Regions from separate parts of the Homo sapiens genome. Here region 2 is linked to region 1. The links are contacts of gene promoters, found by promoter capture Hi-C in human tissues and cell types (Jung and others, 2019). All regions are on one chromosome and are shown on one strand. The core of a region is centred on a gene start or on the middle of the fragment in contact, and the rest is flanking DNA. Distances in the headings are between cores, read along the strand shown.

The links. Contacts are between HindIII fragments. The study calls those that stand out against the background at their distance.
Region 2: a contact is called between a fragment that was not itself captured here and the fragment with the promoter of SACS in region 1, in 1 of the 25 tissues and cell types used here (dorsolateral prefrontal cortex).

What each region holds. Positions count from the first base shown.
Region 1 is chr13:23,428,012-23,435,016 of GRCh38, forward strand. SACS (sacsin molecular chaperone) reads right to left here and starts at 5,691. Exons shown (of 10, transcript NM_014363.6): 1 at 5,604-5,691. SACS-AS1 (SACS antisense RNA 1) reads left to right here. Exons shown (of 2, transcript NR_103450.1): 2 at 1-858. RefSeq lists an enhancer at 4,943-5,510. The HindIII fragment of the contact is 7,525 bases long and covers 1-7,005 here.
Region 2 is chr13:23,816,070-23,822,604 of GRCh38, forward strand. The region is part of intron 14 of MIPEP (mitochondrial intermediate peptidase); the gene reads right to left. Among named protein-coding and RNA genes, the nearest start is that of PCOTH, 70 kb to the right of the region's middle. The HindIII fragment of the contact is 3,621 bases long and covers 1,218-4,838 here.

The DNA of each region.
Region 1 (7,005 bases), core at 4,441-6,940:
TGCCGTGTTCACAGACACGCCTCTGCAGCTGCACCTGGCAGAACAGCTTGAGTTTCCCTAGAAACGCTCTTTGAGAAAGGAATAGAGGCAGAATTGCCCTTGGTGATCTCCTAAGAAATGGGGTCCATGTTCATCTGAAGATGGGAATGAAAAATTCATCCTTTTGGTTCAACCAAATTCATACATGGCCAAATCCTCTGGAATATGGTGAAAGCTGACCCTTGAAAGCCGCTATCATTACAAAAACAAGGAGCCAAATGCAGACAGACTTCAGGCCCACAGAACGCCTCCATGGGAATTATCAGCGAAGTAATCATCTCACTCTCCTAACTTCAGGAGAAAATATGAGTCAGCAAAGACTAAATTGGTTTAAAAATAGAATATTTGCAAAATGGAAAAGTCGGATGAATTCACGCTATAAATCAATAGACCTTTAAAGGTAAGGCACAGCAAGCATTTTGGATGACATTAATGAAAGACCTGTGTTGGCATAGTGTGCTGCAGGAAAGGTCGGGGGTCACCACAGCCAGTACCAGACCTTAAATATAATCCTGAAATTAAATATGTACGTAAAATAGTTTCTAGAGCACAAAAGGTGAAGGTAAAGGAGAGTGCTACTGATCTTTTGTGTGTGTGTAATAAAGATTTCGATGTAAAATGTACAACAGAAAAAATACTGTATTTCAATAATAAGAAAAATATATAAATTATTCCCCCAGTGCTCCAAATCCCTTCTGTGTCATACAAATCTTTCTCATCTACTTTGCTGAAAGTTGCTCAAGAATATCTTATTCACCTTTGACTCTCCTACTTAGGTTTATGGATACAGAAAGTATTCAATAAAGAGTGAATAATTTAGTCTCTTTAGCCAATTTACAGATAATAAAACTACACATATTTTGTATGTAGTTTATCTGGCCTCAGATTCTAGCTTGTCAACTGGCAGAGCTAATTGTGGAGGCAGGAGACTAGAAGGCTGGCACCGAAATAGAATCTCCCAGAGTCTTAGGTTTGCCTTCAAAAGCTCAATTATTCTCAAAGATAAAATTTTACATAAAAATAATATCACATATGAGTGAATTGTATGGTATGTGAATATCTCAAAGCTGCTAAATGAAATTTTAAAAATAGATTATATGACTAAAATATATTTGATGTTTAAGTGTCATTTCAGAATACATAATATCTTAATTGATATTATCTAATAATATTGACTTTTTGAAGGAAAAATAATATTCAATTATTTCTTTAAAAACTAATTCTTTGGGGAGGATTGACCATGTACAACCATGGCAGAGGCTCACTAAACTGTGATTCAGTCGTTGAGGTAGGGATTTTTTTTTTTTTTTTTTTTTTTTTTTTTTTTTTTGAGACGGAGTCTCGCTCTGTCACCCGGGCTGGAGTGCAGTGGTGCGATATCGGCTCACTGCAAGCTCCGCCTCCCGGGTTCACGCCATTCTCCTGCCTCAGCCTCCTGAGTAACTGGGACTACAGGCGCCCGCCACCATGCCCGGCTAATTTTTTTGTATTTTTAGTAGAGACGGGGTTTCACCGTGTTAGCCAGGATGGTCTCGATCTCCTGACCTCGTGATCTGCCCACCTGGCCCTCCCAAAGTGCTGGGATTACAGGCGTGAGCCACCGTGCCAGGCCCGAGGTAGGGATTTTTAACCTATCATGAATCCCATTTAAGAAGGAGGAAGCTGAGGCTGCAAGAGGTTAAGTGTCAGAACTAGTATGATGTGGAGCCAGGTTCCAAAACCCAGTATATCTTCCTCCAAATACATTAAAATCTTGGGTACTTTTTATTACTATTCTTAGCAGGGACTCTCAGGAATATGACAGTAAAATGAACATAGATCTGTTCTTTGTAATCAGGATTGTCTCTGGATGGTCACTTAGCATAAACATTTAATATAATATTGGCTGGGCTCACGCCTGTAATCCCAGCACTTTGGGAGGCTGAAGTGGGCAGATCACTGGAGATCAGGAGTTCAGGACCAGCCTGGGCAACATGGTGAAACTCCGTCTCTACTAAAAATACAAAAATTAGCCGGACGTGGTAGCAGTCACTTGTAATCCCAGCCACTCGAGAGGCTGAGGCAGGAGAATCACTGGAACCCGGGAAGTGGAGGTTGCAGTGAGCCGAGATTGCACCACTGGCCTCCAGCCTGGGTGACAGAGTTAGACAACATCTCAAAAAAAAAAAATTAATAAATAAAACTAAAGGAATATTTGGTGTAATTGACAAAAAACTCATAAAGATTGGTTGTAATTTATGTTTGAAGCTTAAAGACCTAACAAACTAATATCCTTAAGCTCTAAGTAACTATCATTGATCAAGTAAAGCTCTGTTTATATCATATTGCCAAATTTAGCAAATAAAAATTATAAATATAAACATATACACCTTAAGTTTGAGTTTCAGATAAACCACGAATTATTTTTTAGTATGTTTATGTCTTATGCAATATTTTTTGTATTTAATCTTGTAATCCTATCAGGGTTTTTAAATGGTGAAATTTATCATTGCATTAAAAACAAGGAAAAAGGCTAAAGTAGTACTATGTGAAAATGTGCACAAATTCTAGATACGTATAGAATTCAAATACTCCTTTCTAGCACTTAGTACTTTAATGAGGTAAGGATTTAAATGATCACCAATAATTATATTAGGATGGCTTTGATTTATTTTTAAATGTCATTTCAGAACACATTAAAAGGCTATGTGGACTGTAGAGCCCTTATTTTCTGCCCCAGATGACAAACTCATGGTGTAATCTCGAGCAGAATATTTAAAACAAATGTTTGTCTGGATGTAAGGTTATTATAATTGGACCACAGATCTCTCCTGACAAAACCCAGAACCAACGTGTCACCTTGGGTTTCACATCGTCGTCAATTTGAAGTGCCTTGAGGGGGATACCATGGTAGGAACAGAGCTCAGAGTTCAGTCTGAGAACTCAGTGATGCTCCCCAAGGGAATCGAGTCTTACCATCTAGTCAGTCTCTCCTTTTACTAATAAGAAATACTTGGGGTTCTACTCTCTCTTAAGGTTGCATTTTGTAATCTGCAAAATGGGGCTGCCTGTTTCATAAGGCTATTGTAAGAATCAATGAGATAAAAGCATTTAATTTGATCAAATAATTGTTGTAAACTGAGGCTACCCCAAAGAGAGCTATCTGAATCATCTAGTCAGAACCTGAAGGAAATTGAAAGATTATTCTATGTCTCTTGCCTTAGAGATGGCGTTAAAAGGCTTTCTAATTAGCACAAAGAGAAGTCAAAGCAGGGCTGGAGCCACACCCTTTGGTCCCCAATCCAGTGCTTTTCCCAACTTCGCTATGTTCCCCCTTAGGTAGGGGTGAAACGGCCTCTCCTAGACGTTAAAATCTTACACAATATCCTGAGTGTGAGTTAAGGAAAGGAAAGACGGCAGGAGAAAGACACATAAAGTAGAAATTAAAATAGTAACAGGATTGTCATTGCAAAGAGCAAATTGCCACCCAGGCTGTCCAAGATCAGAATAGCAATGGGAATTGTCCTGACTTCCAATTTGGCATCCTCTGCATCAATCACATTTAGTAGTCCTCATGTAGGCTCATGGTGGGAGTGGTCAATATCATCATCACTGCTGCTGTCTTAAAGGATTTAGGAAGAGTTGTACAAAGAGAATCGGCCTTCCTTCTTCCAAAGAATACTCCTATGGCAACATGGAAACATCAGCGTTCCTTTTATAGACAAGAGGGCTTAGAACAGTGTTTCGTGCATAGCAAGAACTGAATATGTATTTTGTACTGATCAGGACTCATTCAGATGCACTCAGCCAAAAGTTCATTTCAAAATTTATTCCTTTTGGGAAATGGTGCATGAACCACTTTAGCATGCTTCACCATGGTGGTTAGGTAGATGGTGGACTGAGTGAGAAAACGACAAAACTCTTACTAAATAGTGACACTGTGTGAAGAACCCTGCTAGGCGCCTTCATACAAATCACCTGGTTTCAACCCTGTGACCATTAAGTGAATAATTGTGTCATCTCTGACACAGGAGGGAACTGAGGCTCACAGAAGTTATGTGGATTGTCAGGGGCTGCAGAGTAAGGATGTGGTAGACCTGAGATTGGAACCCGGGGCTTCTGGGGGCAAGTCCTGCGTAAAGCAATGGTTTTGAGATGCTTCAGATGTAAGCAAACCTTGGTCTTCAAGTTCTATAATTGGACTTTTCTTCCTATTATGTGAAGAATAGAAAACACTTAATCGTGGAAAAGTTCTTATAAACCAAGTAAGATTAAAGGAAAATAGGGTATGTAGAAAATCTGGCTTGCTTTGTTTGAAAGGGAGACTGAAGGAGTCTTTAAGATCCAAGGAGAAAAGAAAGAAAAAATTGCCCAAACAGCCCAGGAAGGAGAAGAAAGGATGAAAGGGACGGCTAAGGAGGATAGAGGAAAGGAAACTGGGGATCGTTGTCACAGCCCAAAGTGAGGCTTCAGGGCAAGATTAGGGAAGGCAGTCTGGATGGTCATAAGTAAAACTACTGGGACATCATGACCCTGCATTAACGTAGAATGAGTCTGGTTATCAATGGGCAGCTTAAGAAAAACAGAATGGCAAATCTACTTGTCATGTGACAAATAAAATGGGATTGTCAATTATTTATTATTATTATTATTATTTTCATCCATGACCTGTGAATCAATTACTTTTATCTGCACTGATGGAGAAATGAAGAGTTCCCCTTCAAAATAACTTCAGAGCAGCTTGCGCTTGGGAAGCACGTGGATTCAACCTGGCTTCTGCCTTTTACTTAAGCGGAATGGGCTTTATCCATCTTCAGGGGCAGAGAGAATTAAGATTAAAGCCAAAACAATTGATATGTTTTAATAGAAACAAATCCAGTCCTCTTCTCTGAGGTATTGACCTCGTTTTAAGGAAGAAAAAAAGACAGCGAGAGAGAGGTTTTGTTGCTAAAGCTGGAATACTCTTTCAAAGAATCTAATGATCGCTTATTAGAATAAAATTAAATATGTGAAATATTTTTTAACTAAAAGCAGGATTTTCAAATATTATATAAGATAACCATAACATATGGCATTGTTTGAAGGCATGCTGTTTAAAGTGAGAGCAATTCTGCAAATTAACCGTAAGCTACTTTGAGAATCCCATCTTATTGTTCAATAAGACTCTGGACCCCACGCTGTGTTACTGCAACAGCTCCATTGTGGCGGTGCCTGGCAACCCGGGTGGAAATTAAAATGACAAAGCGGCTAGTCCAGCATCTTGACCGCGGCAGATCTCTCTAGTCACCCTGCAGCCGCTCCTCACCCACAAATTCACAAGCAGCCAACCCAAACTGTACATTTTCAGAAGAGCTCATTACTCACAGCTGTACAGCACGCTGAAGGCCCTCTCGTCTCTGTCCTCTCCGAAGGCGGGTATGTTAAAGGAAAGTGGCCCCTTACCTCCCCCAAGCAGCTGCAGTGGCCGAGCCCTGGTTTCCCAAGGCTCAGGGGACGGATGGCCAACAACACCATGGAGCCTGCCCGTCCCCAGGCCGCTCCTGCAGCTGCCCTCGCTGGCCACCCAGCTGGAACCTTGGACTTACTGGGGGCTGTGGGCATCAGGGTCTCTCGGCCTTTGTTTTCCTCCAGTGCCATCAGCAGTTCCCAGCGTGACTGTCCCGCAGCCGCACTGGGTCCAGGCGGCTCCTGCCGCAGTCAGTCGCTCCCCCTACCCAGCAGCCTTTTTTTTTCTTCTTAAAGAGACAGGACTGTCATCAACCTTAGGTGTCAATAATGCTGCAAGTGCAGCATTGTCGTTCATTGTGGGGGTGACAACCAACCACACGTTTTTGTTCTCTTCACTTGCAAAGGCTAATTTTTAGCAGTAGGTATGGCTAACAGAAGACTGGCTCTATTAAACACCAGTTGTGTGACCTTAGACAAGTCACTCATGGGTCTCGAGTACCTCATGGGAAATGAAGACCTGTGACCTGGTAATGTTGTAGCTCACAATCTGCTTTTTGTATGTTATTTGGAGTTGTTTATGAGGTTCCAATGGTTAAAAAAAAAAGCATTCACTCAAAATGTGTGGTAAACTGTGAAATGCTATACAATTGATCCTGTTCTAAGTTGAAATTGCTAGTCTCAATTTAATAATACAAAATATTGTAACTCTATTTTCTTGCTTCCTCTGATGGGGTATGTGAAATACCACCAGCATTTATTTCATTTCGGCGCACAGCTATCCTGCCACTGGCCTGGGTACATCATATTCCTCATGATAGTCTCCTAGTAGAACTGCCTGCTTTATCCATATAAATCTAGAATTTTGGCTTATCTGGAAATACTGGATCTCGGAAGCTTCTTATTGCTTCGTTCCTGCGGAAAATTCCTCTTAAGTCAGTTCAAACAACTCCAGACCTGAAAAGGCTCAAATGATCTCTCCTGGGAGAAGACCAAAGCAAGCCCCAAATGTCAGCAGCAACTGGGGAAGGAGAGCCCCTGCTTCTTGTACCTGGCCCTGCACTGGTCTGACCCAGAAGATGCCACATCTAATGGTGTCTCCTTCACATCCTAGACTCACAGATTTGTGTACATATTATTTCCTGGGAGATAGGTGGGAGACCTGTTCTAACAAAAGGACTGAATAATCACAAACAAAGCACATTTCTATTGGGGAGAAATGGTGTCTTGCAGGGCCTTTTCATTGAGCTCTCACTGTAGCACCGTGTGGACCAACAGGCCCTCGGTGGCATGCGCCTGTGGAGTGAGGCTGCCTCTCTGAGGCTACCACCATTCTTACATGGTTCAGTTGTAATCAGTTTAATTCAGCACACAAATATTGAGCCCTTGCTTGTTCCTGGCATCAGCTAGACACCGTAGACTAAACGGTGAATACCCAGTATGTTGCTCCCCCAGCAGGCTCTTCTACTCACAGCTGTAAACCATTACACCCCCAAAGGGAAAAGTTATAAATAACTACATATATATAAACTATATATATAA
Region 2 (6,535 bases), core at 1,778-4,277, 390 kb after region 1:
CTTTAAGGTTTTCTCTTTATCTTTGGTTTCCAGCCGTTTGACAACAATGTATCCAGGTATATTCTTTCTGATTGTTTGTCCTGCTTGGGATTCTTGAAGCTTCTTGGATCTCTGGTGTGCTTTTCATTATTTTTGGCAAATTCTCAGTTATTATGCCATCAAATATTTCTCCGGCCTTGTTATTGCTCTCTTTTCCTTTCTGGAACTTGAATTGCATGTATGTTACACTGGCTGGTATTGTCCCAGAGTTCTTGGATGCTTGGTTTTGTTTTTGTTTCCCATCCCCTACTCCTTTCCCCACTCTGTATTTCAGTTTAAATAATTTCTACTGACCTAATCTATCTTTAAATTCACTGATTCCTTCCCTAGTTTCATCGAGTGTATGGATGAGCTTCTCAAAGGAATTCTTCATATGTGATATCGTGGCTTTATTACCTACATTTGCATTTGACTGTAGTTTTTTTTTGTAGTTTCCACTTCTCCTTATCTGTTCATACATGTTATCCATGTTTTCCGTCTTGTCCTTTAATGGTTGTTTAAGTCCCTGACAGACAGTGACTTTGAAGTTATTCTAGTTGTTAGTTATTTTCAAGTTCCTCAGTTTGCTTTTATTGATTAGCTTTATCTTGGAGCAGGGAGTCAGGGTTTTCTGCTATTTCTGCAGCAGCAGCCAATCACTTCCTACAACACGGAGGAAGCCTGTCTGCTTTCCCACCCTGCTCTCATGAGCACCCAGAGGAGGCCGACAGAAAATGGCCTACAAGTGAATGCAAACTCCTCCAGTATCAGGGCCCTCAGATATTCCAGATTGATATTCCAGTCCACACTGGGACTCTAACAATTCGCTAAAGTGTTACTGATCTCTTCTTACCCCTTTGTACGGCAGTCAACCTTTCCACCCATGATCTGCCACAGGTGAGCCATCTGTATCTCTCTGGATTCAGACACCTCGAGGGCCCTGAGACCTCAGCTTCCCTATGAGCTTGAGAAAAGTTAGCATTCTACCTGCCTTTTCCTGTAGGAAGGTTGGTTGCCAGCACTGCTCTTTCGAGCTTTCTGCATCCTAGGTGGATGGGCAAATCCCAAACAGTTCAGACTTTCATTAAGTAATATCATTTGGGCTTAGCCTCCAAAGGAGAAAAATCAAACCAAACCAAACCAAACACAAAGGCAGAAAAGCTTTACAAAGGGTGAACTATGCTTTTAAGTCAGGAATTACACACCATCAGAGACTATCATGAAGAAACTTGTAAAGCTTTGGCACGTATGACAGACAGCATAGCTGAGCACTGTCTCAAGCAGTTTGGTCAGTCGAGTGAGAATCCCCCTTTCCTCACCTTAGTAATTTTTTATCCTCCAACTCCCTCCACTCCCTCATTCCTTGGCTATAAATCTCCACTTTTCCTTGTTGAATATGGAGTTGAGCAGAATCTCTCCCCCACTACCAAACCTCACTGCAGTAGCCCCCCGATAAAGTCTGCCTTACTGTTCTTTAATAACTTTCATGAATAATTTTTCCTGTAACAAGAACAATAAAACATCATCCTTTGCCCTCAAAAGCATTAAAATTCCGATACCTGCATCACAAGAAGGTGGAGTCTGTGAGGCATGCTGCAGGTGTGTAACGTCGGGCTTGTTGATTCAATTTGTTTGTGTACCCCTCAAAATTCGATCCTGTGATTCAGGTATGCTGCCCCTTGATGGCAAAGGCACTTCCATCCAAAATTTGTTTTACTGATACTTCAACAAGTTCCCCCACAAAAGGATCAGTAAACATTCAGTGTTTACTGAATGAACACTTAATAACTCAATAAAACATTCAGTGAATATAATTTATATATTTAATACACAATTAGCATACAATTGATAGATGAGGAAGTTAGATAAGGAAAAATGAAAGCAGAAAAATAAAATGAGGTCAGAATTGAGGTTAGGCACATTAAAACATGTTTCCTGTAACTCCGTGTCATTGTCACAGTTGGGCCATACACTTAGTTCTGGGTTTTGCAGTGAGCTAAGCAGCGTTAAAAGAAAAACTTTGGACAAATTAAATTTAACAGAGTTTGGCTAGGCACGTTGGTTCACTCCTGTAATCCCAGCACTTTGGAAGGCTGAGGCAAGCTGATCACTTGAGGTCAAGGGTTCGAGGCCAGTCTGGCCAACATGGTGAAACCCTGTATCTACTTAAAAAAAAAAAAAAATTAGCTGGGCCTGGTGGCGGGTGCCTGTAATCCCAGCTACTCAGGAGGCTGAGGCATGAGAATCGCTGGAACGCGAATGCGGGAGGTAGAGGATGCAGTGTGACAAGATCGCACCACTGCACTCCAGCCTGGGTGACAGAGCGAGACTCTGTCTCAAAAATTAATAAAAATAAATAAATGAATAAATAAATAAATAAACTTAACAGAGTTAAACAGAGCAAAGGACACCTTAAAAATTGGGCAGTCCCTGGAACCAGAATAGGTTCAGAGAGACTCAGGAACTGCCATATAGTCTGATAATATTTATGGACAGAAAAAGGAAAATGACCTACAGAAAACAGATGTGAGGTACAGAAATAGCTGGGTTGGTTACAGTTCACATTTGCCTTATTTGAACAAGGTTTGAACAGCCTGTGATTGGCTGAAACTCTGTGATTGGTACAAGGGTAGGTTACAGGCTGTTTATACCTCTAGTAAGGTTAGAGTTCATTATGTATGGAGAAATCTTTAAGCCTAATTTAAAATATGTAAGGCAGCTTTAGGCTAAATGTAACAGCGGAGAGGGAAATTCAATGATGTGCCTCATTCTAATTTCTGTGAGTAGTGGTCTAGATCCCTTACCTGAAATTCCATAATCCGTTAAGGTCTGAAGACTGGAAAGTTTTCATAAATTTGACCAAAAAAAACATTAGATGGCAAGACCTGACCTGGACAAATGTGAAGTTTGTAAAGTATTTATCTTTTAAAAATATTTACCCTTACACTTCGTGAATATGCAGAAATATGAATGTGTTTCACTACTGGGTACTCTACCAGAACTAGCTAGGTTTATTCATTTCTTTTAATTCAACATCCACAGTATAAGGTTAAACAAAAATTATGGGAGGCCATTGTTTTATACTGAGCTCCTACACTGGGCCCCAGTAGACAAAACCAAACCAAATGGAGTCACTCATGCTAAATGCCACACAATCAAACCAAAGTTTTAGAGAAGCAGGTAGATCCCATACAGTCCGGTGTTTCCTGAAAATAGGAGATCGCAGTCTACCTGAGTCAGTGTCATATGGAAGCTCCCTTTGCTTTAACGCTTACAAAAGAGGAACCTGATGCTAATCAATCGGCTTTTTTTTCTGGTGTTCTGTTTCCTTGTTCCCACCTTATAAAGCCCACTCTTCTGCTATTGCCCAGGGGTAGCTTTCATTCTACTTTGTAGAATAGAGGCTGCCTAATTCATGAATCACATATAAAAGTCAAACGGATCTATAACCAAATTTGTTGCAATTTTTTCTTCTCATAAACCATATTAATTTTCTAAAAATCCAGAAAATTCTGAATTCCAAAACATCTAATCCCGAAGTTTTAGATAGAGAACTATAAATCTCTATGTGTTATATACATTTGGTCTGAAATACAGCGTAAATTCTCCACTTTTTATTAAAAAAAAAAATAGAAAAAAAGCCGGACACGGTGGCTCATGCCTGTGATCCCAGCACTTTGGGAGGCCAAGGCCAGTGGATCACCTGAAGTCAGGAGTTCAAGACCAGCCTGGCCAACATGGTGAAACCCCATCTCTACTAGAAATACAAAAATTAGCCAGGTGTGGTGGCATGTACCTGTAATCCCAGCTACTTGGGAGGCTGAGGGAGGAGAATTGCTTGAACCTAGGAGGCAGAGGTTGCAGTGAGCTGAGATTGCATCCTTGCACTCCAGCCTGGGTGACAAGAGGGAGACTCCATCTCAATAAAAAAAAAAAAGGAAAAAAACCTCTTTTCATTCCAAGTGTTCTACACACAGTATATTGTACATGTCTCCCCAATGAGGTTTACAGATGTGTCATTTAAAAAATGGGTTAAGTGTGAGAAACTCTTCGAGCACTCTTAATTTTGTATCTATAGAATCCAGTTGAGTGAAGTTACTTGGCCTTCCCTTGATGTTGTCCAACTCTCGTGCTTGTGTTGACTGAACAGAGGCCCTGCCTGTGGTAGAAGAGCCAACAATAAAAGCAGGTCAGATTGTCTAGGAAATTCACTCAAGTAAACACCTTTCTTGGGGATTCCAGTTATTAGCATATTAAATTATACGTAGTCCTACCTTTATAGAAACCCATTTAATGCTACACCCATTTTCCAAAATTATTTGAGCACAGAACACCTGCTCCCTCCACCCCATACATCTTTTATAATCAGGTGATTTAATATGTACAACACTAGTTGGAAAATGACTTGGTAAAGCAATTAAATGTAACTTTCACTAATAAAAGAAAGAATTCTTATAAATAAAACATCGTAAAGAAATAAAGGAATAAATACAGCTGTTATTCTGGCTATCTTACAGCTTCTTTCCAGTCTTATATTTACACCCACTTTATTAGAAAGCTTCTCTTCAGCTCTTCTCCATCGCACCTGGCTCTGCCTCTCCCAGGCCAGCACAGCCCCCAGACATTCTGGGAACTTGCCTGCAGGGTGTCCTGCCGCTCTGGTGCCTGAGCCAGTTCCAATGCCCCATCAGAGTGTGCATTTCTAAGGAATGAAAGTTGATGGAGCTCATGAAAGCACACTAATTTGCCTTTCCTTATGGCCAGGGAACAAATGGATAGAGCACAGAAGGTGCTGTATGTTCTGGTCTCCTCAATGCATTAGCAGATCCACAAAACTCATTCTGATTTCTCTGCTCCAAAACAGAAGAAAAATAGCCAGCATCCAACACTGCCTCCATACTGAAAAACGCCAAATAATACCAACTGCAAGCTCCACATTTCCCTCCTGCAACATTTTCTTTTTCCACAGTGAAGAGGGAGATTCCCACTCTGTTATTTTTTCAGATATCACCTATCAACTATTATTTTTATGGAGGCATTTTATTGAAATACAATAGTAAATCTAGTTATACCCTCAGTAAAGCTTTGCAATCTGCAACCTTTACAAACTATCTTACTATAGAGTTGTTCAGAAACAGTTTTCTATAAAATCTGTATCCCTTAACAAGGGCAGACTATTTTAAACATGGATTGAGAATTTATGTTAATGTGAATTTATTTCAAAGCAATTTTTACTGAGTGAACTTTATACTTCAGATAATTTATGCCCCTTCCTAGTTTCTTTCATAAAAATATCTGCAGATTTTTTTTTGTCACTATAGAATCCCACCAAGTCCAAATGAGCCCTGGTTTGAAGCTGGCTGCCTCCTGTGCTTACGAAATGGGCTGTAAGAGAAGACAGAGCAAGAAAAGCAGGTGAGACCTGTCACAAGACTCTCTGGGCTCATCTTCACCGAGCATCCCACCCTGTGCAAGGCATCCTACTAAGCAGCTGGGTAATACACAATGAATCTCACCTGATCCTGCTACCTGGAACCAGAAAAGGAATGTACAACCTGCAGTATCTGAGGGGGGTTGGTTCCAGGACCTTCCTCCAAGAACAAAATCCATACATGTTCAAGTCCCTGGTATAAAATAGTATAGTATTTGCAGATAACCTAGATGCATATCCTCTTATATACTTTAAATCATGTCTAGACTACTTGTAATACCTAATACAAAGTAGCTATGTAAATAGTTGTTACACTGTACTGCTTTTTTACTTGCATTTTAATAATTGTGTTGTTATTATTACTATTTTTTCCAAGTATTTTTGACCCATGGTTAGTTGACTGTGTGGACACAGAAGGGCCAAATGTATTTCAGGATTCATAAAGCATGGGAAAATGCACCAAGAGCCACAAAAGAGGTGCAGATAAAGCAATAAAGGAATTTAGAAGAGAGTAATCATTCACAGTGTTGGAAAAGCAATTACCCTAACAATAAATGGTGCCATTTGTACTACCGTAACAGTGGTATTTCAAAAGCAGAGATCAAACATCGTGGGTGGTTTTTTAAAATAGGAAAATGGTAGAAATGTTGTTTCTACTATTGGAATATAATATGCCAGTAATTAACTACAGTGACCTAATGTGCTTACTGTAATAATCCAACCTGAATTTTTCCACAATTACCACTGTATTTAAAACAGTAATTTCTGTGTTTATTTTTAAAAACTCAAGATTTGACTATATGACTATAACAAGACAATGCAGCCTGTCTAATATGCTAAAGTTGCCTATAAACTAAAAAGAACTGACTTAAAAGCCCTGGAGTGGTTGCCTCACATTGCCCCACCCCGCAAGGCTGTACTACGGTTGGGTAACCAAATGCTCCTATTTCAAGCATTTAGCTAATTGATTCATCCTATCCCGATGATGCATTCAATGACTTAAACTTAGATTTCTAGAGCCCCAACTAGACTGTGAGACACAATCAGCCATTGCTGTGTGAAAGGTCCCCTTAAAGGACACTAGGG